2 separate regions of the Homo sapiens genome follow, and region 1 is linked to region 2. The links are contacts of gene promoters, found by promoter capture Hi-C in blood cells and fetal thymus (Javierre and others, 2016). All regions are on one chromosome and are shown on one strand. The core of a region is centred on a gene start or on the middle of the fragment in contact, and the rest is flanking DNA. Distances in the headings are between cores, read along the strand shown.

What was found. The method cuts DNA at HindIII sites, captures the fragments that hold promoters and counts their contacts. A CHiCAGO score of 5 or more calls a contact.
Region 1: a contact is called between a fragment that was not itself captured here and the fragment with the promoter of MYCT1 in region 2, in 1 of 17 cell types (endothelial precursors). The highest score is 7.3, in endothelial precursors.

The regions. Positions count from the first base shown.
Region 1 is chr6:152,482,652-152,486,071 of GRCh38, forward strand. SYNE1 (spectrin repeat containing nuclear envelope protein 1) reads right to left here. Exons shown (of 146, transcript NM_182961.4): 13 at 2,184-2,321; 14 at 434-598. Among named protein-coding and RNA genes, the nearest start is that of SYNE1-AS2, 82 kb to the left of the region's middle. The HindIII fragment of the contact is 2,269 bases long and covers 688-2,956 here.
Region 2 is chr6:152,696,420-152,699,969 of GRCh38, forward strand. MYCT1 (MYC target 1) reads left to right here and starts at 1,478. Exons shown (of 2, transcript NM_025107.3): 1 at 1,478-1,679. The coding sequence starts at 1,484. The HindIII fragment of the contact is 10,649 bases long and covers 426-3,550 here.

The sequences.
Region 1 (3,420 bases), core at 572-3,071, 210 kb before region 2:
CCTACAGCCTCCATTCCTTCTACCCCCACCCCACAGCACCAAGACATAAGAACTTCTGCCTGCCTTCCTTTGAGAATGGAGGCAGAAATGAGGTCTGGAGCCAATGGCCGGCCACATTATTATGTAAATGCATACCATCTATGCTTATCTTTTGAAAAATAATATATAACAACAGAAATAACAAAGATAGCTGCAGATGAAAAAAATACCACACAGGTATGGAAAATATCTCAGGAAGTCAACCCACTGGAACCGTCATTAACCAGTGTAAGAAAGAAACAATCAAATTAGAGAACTCTAAGAAGGTGTGACGTCTCCGATCATGTAGAATTAATATTTGGGGCGTCCCCGCCAGAGCAGGTTGTAACTAGGCTACCTCTCCAGACCACAGTAGGGCTGTTATGCTGCAAGGTTTTCCAACCAGAATTTTTACCTTATGTTGCTCAAGTTTCCGTTGTATCGTGTTTGCTGTTTCCTCGTGGACCTGTTGAACGGTTATTTCCTCTCTCAGGGCCACCTCCGCTCTGTACAGCCAGGCACCTATGGTGCCCAGAGGTGCAGGAAGAGATTTATCAAGCTGTATATGCCAGTCAAAGAGCTAAAATTTAAAAAGCAGAAAAGTAAAATATCTTTAATACAGATGGCAATTTATAAAATTGCACCCAAATAATAGTAAAGCATACATAAAGCTTTAAGTTAATGATTTCAGGCTAAGTTAATAAATATCAAATAAGCAAATGTCTGTGTTCTGAGTTTGACACTTTAGGGATGGGGAGAAAATTACAGTTAAAAGCAAATTTTGAAGAAACTGAAAATACATCTTAAACATGGAAGAATATTATCAGAAGTGTAAGCAATTTTCCTCTTACAGGAGTAGCATGAAGCACCCACTGATTTTCAGTGTGGCTTTTGCTGAAAGGGAAGGGATCAGGTTTGGTGACATGCTTGGAGGATGCAGCAGTTATACACCTGGCACATGTGTATCTTGGTCGTCGGAATGAGAATCCCATTAAAACCTCCCACGTGATCAGAACAAGTTCAGAAAAATGAGGATTATCTAAGCAGCTCTGGACAAAGATGGGTTTAAAGGATTCTTTCTATAATCCTATGATTGTCTACCCTTCTCTCCATCTCTTCCATTTTACCCAATTCTCAGACACATTTCCTAGCTTACTGGAAAGCCAGGTGGGATGAGTTGAGGTGCTTAGGAACTAGCCTATTCTTTAATGGAGTCACTAGAAAAAATGAGACTATCAAAAAAAAAATTAGGCTGGGTGCAGTGGCTCACTCCAGTAATCCCAGAAATTTGGGAAGCCAAGATGGATGAGATGCTTGAGCCCAGGAGTTTAAAACCACCCTGGGCAATATAGTGAGATCTCATCTCTACAAAAAAAAAAAAAAAAAAAAAAAATTAGCCAAGTATGGTGGTACATGCCTGTGGTCCCAGCTACTTGGGAGGCTGAGGTAGGATGATTGCTTGAGCCAAGGAGGTTGAAGCTGCAGTGAGCTGTGATTGTGCCACTGCACTTTAGCCTGGGTGACAGAGCAAGACACTATCTCAAAAACAAAATAAAATAAAGTAAAGAATATATGGTAAGTTCAAGACAAATATTCTTATTAGTGATAGAAGTGTTCCAGGGGTTTGAAATCTTGGCCTTTAAGCATGAAGAATATGAATATGAAAGATACTGAGCAATTTTCCTTCAGATTCATGATCAGATAAAAAAAGATGCTTGAATTAAAGAATGCAAAACTGTATGTCAACACAGGAAGGTCATTAACTGTTGATGAAACATGATTTTAGAATACAAGAAGTTGCTGTGGCTCTACTCTGGAGAATCTGCTACAAGACCAGAGAGTCACCTCTTCTAAACCACCCAGAAGGAAGTTGTGTAAAGTGTGAAGTGATCCAGATGGTCTCAGGACTTTAATCTATCATCTAGTTAATTGCTGATATCACATAGAGGGAAGCCAAGGCAAGAAAATAGCTGTTAAACCAAAGACTTCCATTAACTTACAGGAAAACTAGACAAGGAGGCAAAGATTCTCCCATAGTTAAGTCTTTCTAGCCTCAGACAGAGGCAGTAGAACCTGTTGCCATACCACTGTGTAGAAATAGATGATGAAAAATATTCTTTTCTAAATTTATTAAGCTCAGTATAACTAATTGTGGGAGAACTTACCCTGGAGGTCACTCTATCCCAAGATTGTTTTACCAATGCTTGGTCAAGTGACAATTTACCGTCTCTGTGTAATGGTTGTATTAAATGTTCAATCTGTTTCCTCTTCATTTCATATTGAACTCTGAAGTGCTTAAATGACTAAAAGAGGAAAAACAGCAACAGTATGGCAATGAGTCAAAAAAAGCAAAAGCAAAGGAAAGCACATTTCCTAAATAACAATCTTTTCTATTTGGATAACACTCAATATATGTTGTTGATAATAATAACGGTAGTTATGATACTAATAGCAGCTGTCATTCATCAAGCCCTGACATAGCTTGACCCTGTGCTAAGTGCTTTCTTCATATTATCCTCTCTGGTTCTCTCCATCACCCTACACATGCATTATTATTCTGAAGCCCAGAAATGACTTATCAAGGACAAGTAGTAGAGGTAGGACTAAAGCCTAGGATTTCTCATTTCTAGTAAAGTAATTTGTGTACCAGTATATGTTTGTCAGGAAATCATAGTAAACAGGAGTATAAATCTTAGCTAATAATCAAGATAGTTGCTTTACTTCAAGTACCAAACAATTTACAAATAGAAATTGCATATATCAAAATAATGCAGAATTAAAGCTGTCTAGATTTGTGTTTAAGTAAGCCTGCATAAAGAGGTTTACTTTAGGGGACCATGTTTACATGATAATCCTTTGCTTTAATTTCATGGTATTAAAATATTAAGTATATCACAGTACAGTTGACATCAATGTATTATATGTAGACTTAACTATAAGCTTAATGCTAACATTAAAACAATTTTTAAAGTTTTATATTTTACATTAACTAAATTAACCCATCCTAAAATATGACTCCAAATCTAAACATAAAATGAAAAGATAATTAAAATGTGCAATTATGTTACAGGAGAATGGCCCCACAAAAGTTAGCAGATAACACAACTAAAAGAATTTCAAAATTATAAACAAACATGTAAATTCACGTGAAGAACACTGGGGGGAGATAGTGAACTAGAATTTTATCTACAAGGTTTTCTTTCATTTTCTCTAACTGAATGGAATTTTAAAAATACCAAAACATAGGCTGGGCACGGTGGCTCACACCTGTAACCCCAGCACTTTTGGAGATCGAGGCGGGCGGATCATGAGGTCAAGAGATTGAGATCATCCTGGCCAACATGGTGAAAGCCCGTCGCCATTAAAAATACAAAAATTAGCTGAGCATAGTGGCGCATGCCT
Region 2 (3,550 bases), core at 228-2,727:
ATTCTCTAAATTTTCTATGACGTTTTATAATTCTCTTAGATGATTTATATTTTAATTTCTAATAAATTTATACTTAAATTCACAAAAAAATGAGACTGATCAGAAACAACCTCATTTTGGAAGAAGCAGGACTGCAAAAATTAATATAACTGTCTTTTTTTGTTGTTTTCTTAGAACTACTCAGGAATATATTACAGACTTCACAAAGAGGAATACTACTTTGCACTAAGTCATATTCTAATGACTAATAAGTTAGAATATGATTAATACAAGATATATGCAAGAGTTCAGGCTAGAGTTACTCAAAGATTGATGAAGCCAGATCATGGAATGCAGTTTAGCGCAGTTACTAGGTGCAGTTTGACACGTTATTCACAATTTCCAGTGCCTCCAAAGTCCTCAGAGGATCCAGTCTAAACAAGCAAAGCTTGAGGAAAGACTCTTGAAATGTTAACTAACTTGTGTTTCTCAAAATGTTTCATGTAACTCTTTCCTATATCAGTTCTCAAACTTCTCTATAAAAAACAAATTCCTGAGATCGTTGTACCCTTTGTTATAGCACTTAACAAACTTTGTAATGAAAAATTTTGCATTTATGTTTTCCCTCCTTGATTTTAAATATATTTCTTCAATGTAGAAACTGTTTTTTCATACTAAATACTAAGTAAAGAGTAACACAAATTTTATATAAATTACACTTAGATATTTATGAAATGAATTAAATAACTTTCAAAATTTGTATACCAAATAGAGAAACAGACATGTTAAGAATATAGTGGCCGAGCGCAGTGGCGCATGGCTGTAATCCCAGCACTTTGGGAGGCCAAAGCAGGTGGATCACTTGAGGTCAGGCCTAGTTCATGACCAGCCTGGCCAACATGGTGGAACTCCATCTCTAGTAAAAATACAAAAATTAGCCGGGTGTGGTGGCACGCGCCTGTAATCCCAGCTACTCTGGAGGCTGAGGCAGGAGAATCGCTTGAACCTGGGAGGGGCAGGTTGCAGTGAGCCGAGATCGTACCACTGCACTCCAGCCTGGGCGACAGAGCGAGACTAAGTCTCAAAAACAACAACAACAACAACAACAAAGAATTTAGTAAGTATCTGAGTTTTGAATAGTCCTTTCCCCCAATTTACTATATAAATTTAATTTTCAAGCATTGGAACGTGGTCTATTTCTCAATTCTGTATACATTTAATTCAAGGTGCTGTAGCTGAGAGTTTGGAGTCTTCCTTTCCATGTCAGTAGGGGATGAGGAAACACACACACACACACACACAAACACACACACACACACACAACCCTGTTATCCTAAAAGCAGTTTTGGAGGTGGCTGAGAGGAGAGAACTTAGGAACTTAGCTGAGGAAATGATGAAAAGGACATTGTTTTGTGTCTCAGGAACCATGTGGAATTCCAAGATAAGAAAAACAGTTGCTAATTTGAGTATAAAAGCAGGAAACATGATACACTTATTTCCTTTTATGCGAACACAAGTATATGAGGGGTTGTGTAAAAATTATTTTTCTCTTGCTGTACTACAAAGAGATAGAATCAAACTGCTTTTTTTCGACATACTGGTTTTTCTTTCTGTTTTTCTTCTCTTTCTTCTATTTCTTGTGGATATTATGGCTAATAACACAACAAGTTTAGGGAGTCCATGGCCAGAAAACTTTTGGGGTAAGGTATTTTCTTTTACTGTTTAAAATTTAAAATTAGGATGTAAGAAATGCACTGCGTGATTATTAAAACAGTGAAAATCTCTGAGACATTTTGTTTACTATAATGTGATTACTTAAAGTTTTCATGTTTATTAACAGAAATCTATTTCATACGTTTATTAGCAGAAATATATTTATAGATATAAATATATACTTATATATTTATTTGTCTTTATAGTGTTCTATGAAGATATTCAAGAAGAATCTGGGTATTAAGTACAGATTTTGGCTGGTGTTACAAAATATAATTAGGAAATAGTGAGGATAAAAATAAAAAACATAAGGTGGAGGTAATTCCTGCTTAGAATATGGCATGTAGATTTTGTTGGAAAAATTAACTTTCATTTGTTTGAAGGTTATAGATTATATATTTTATTTTATGAAACTGAGATTTTCCATAGAGGCTATTTTCACTTATGTTGTGAATGTTATATGCTTTAATTTCCAAAGTGAATCCTAATAACATCTGTACTTAAATGAGTGAATTTAAAGTGCAATAACACAGGTAAAATAAATGAATGACTTTAGAGTATAACAAATAAAACATGGAATAATATGAAATTTGAGAAAACTATAGTAGAAAAGATTAAGTGGAAATAACATCACGTGTAACATTCAATGGAATCCTATCACAGGGGTTGGGGGGAAAGAACAATACAAAAGTATTTTTTGGAGAATTTTTTGTCTGAGTCCAGCCACAGCTAACAGTCCAGTGTTCCCTGATGTTGACAATGGGACTGTGCTGAGGTCAAAACTCAGTTGCTCCAGGTTAGAGGTACAAAGAAGATGGGCTCACATGGGGAGTTGACATGTACTCTTGGGTTCAGGGAAATTTTTATATTAAAGGAGGCAATTTAAATTAAATTCAGAAAAACACTTTAATGAAGAAAATAGTATATATGGACAGATCTGTTTATATGGCCAGAACAAGTTTTTAATCCTCTCAGTGTACAATTCAGACTTTCTGCTGTGATTCAAGGTGGGGTTTTGGGAACTTTCACATAAACAGTGAGCAGTAGTGGCCGACTTTTCCCAGCAATCTATATGTCTACCATCACAGAAATTTGCATGAAAAGAATTCACTCCAGTCCTTTAACCTATGTACTTTCTTAGATGAAAAATGTGGGGACAAATATTTATTGGTTTTAAAAGATATTAAAATTCAGCATAAGAAAAAAAAGAATTAACTCATTCTTTTTTTCTCACCTACATTTATGTTTGCTGGAAGACTGAAAAGGAAGGATATTGGTGAGCTCCTAATAAATTTATGTAACAGAATTAAGAAGAAGAAAAAAGATTATTCTAGTACATTGTAAAGAAAGGCTTTGGTAATAGGTTATTTTAGGTAGCTAGCACTAGACAGAAGCCTTTGAATTGTAGATGTCTGATTATATGCTTGTTAAAATATTATTTGCTGTCCTCACTTATAGAGAAAATAAGTGCTAAATGCACACTGAAAAAGAGCTAGAGTCTGTCTAAATCAAATTCATCATTATAAAAGTGTTCTGTATAAATTATTCAAAAGTAAAGTAGTTTTTGCAAAAATTAATATGTAGAAGTCAATCTATTTTTTTCAAACCATTCAAAATTAAATTTCAGGTTTACTTAAAAAAACAAATCATTATTCACTGACTAAAAGATTAAAATAAACTTGATATTAATAAGAGAATGTTTAGTTGGAGTTCACCTATTGATTCTAAAAATTTAGATATTTTTAATATGGAAATCTGTGCTTAAGAGGGAATTAAAACCTGTTATTTCAAAGCCAAATACTAGTTTTTCCTTTCTCTTGTTATGTGACTGTAATGAAAATTAGATGAAAATAATGAA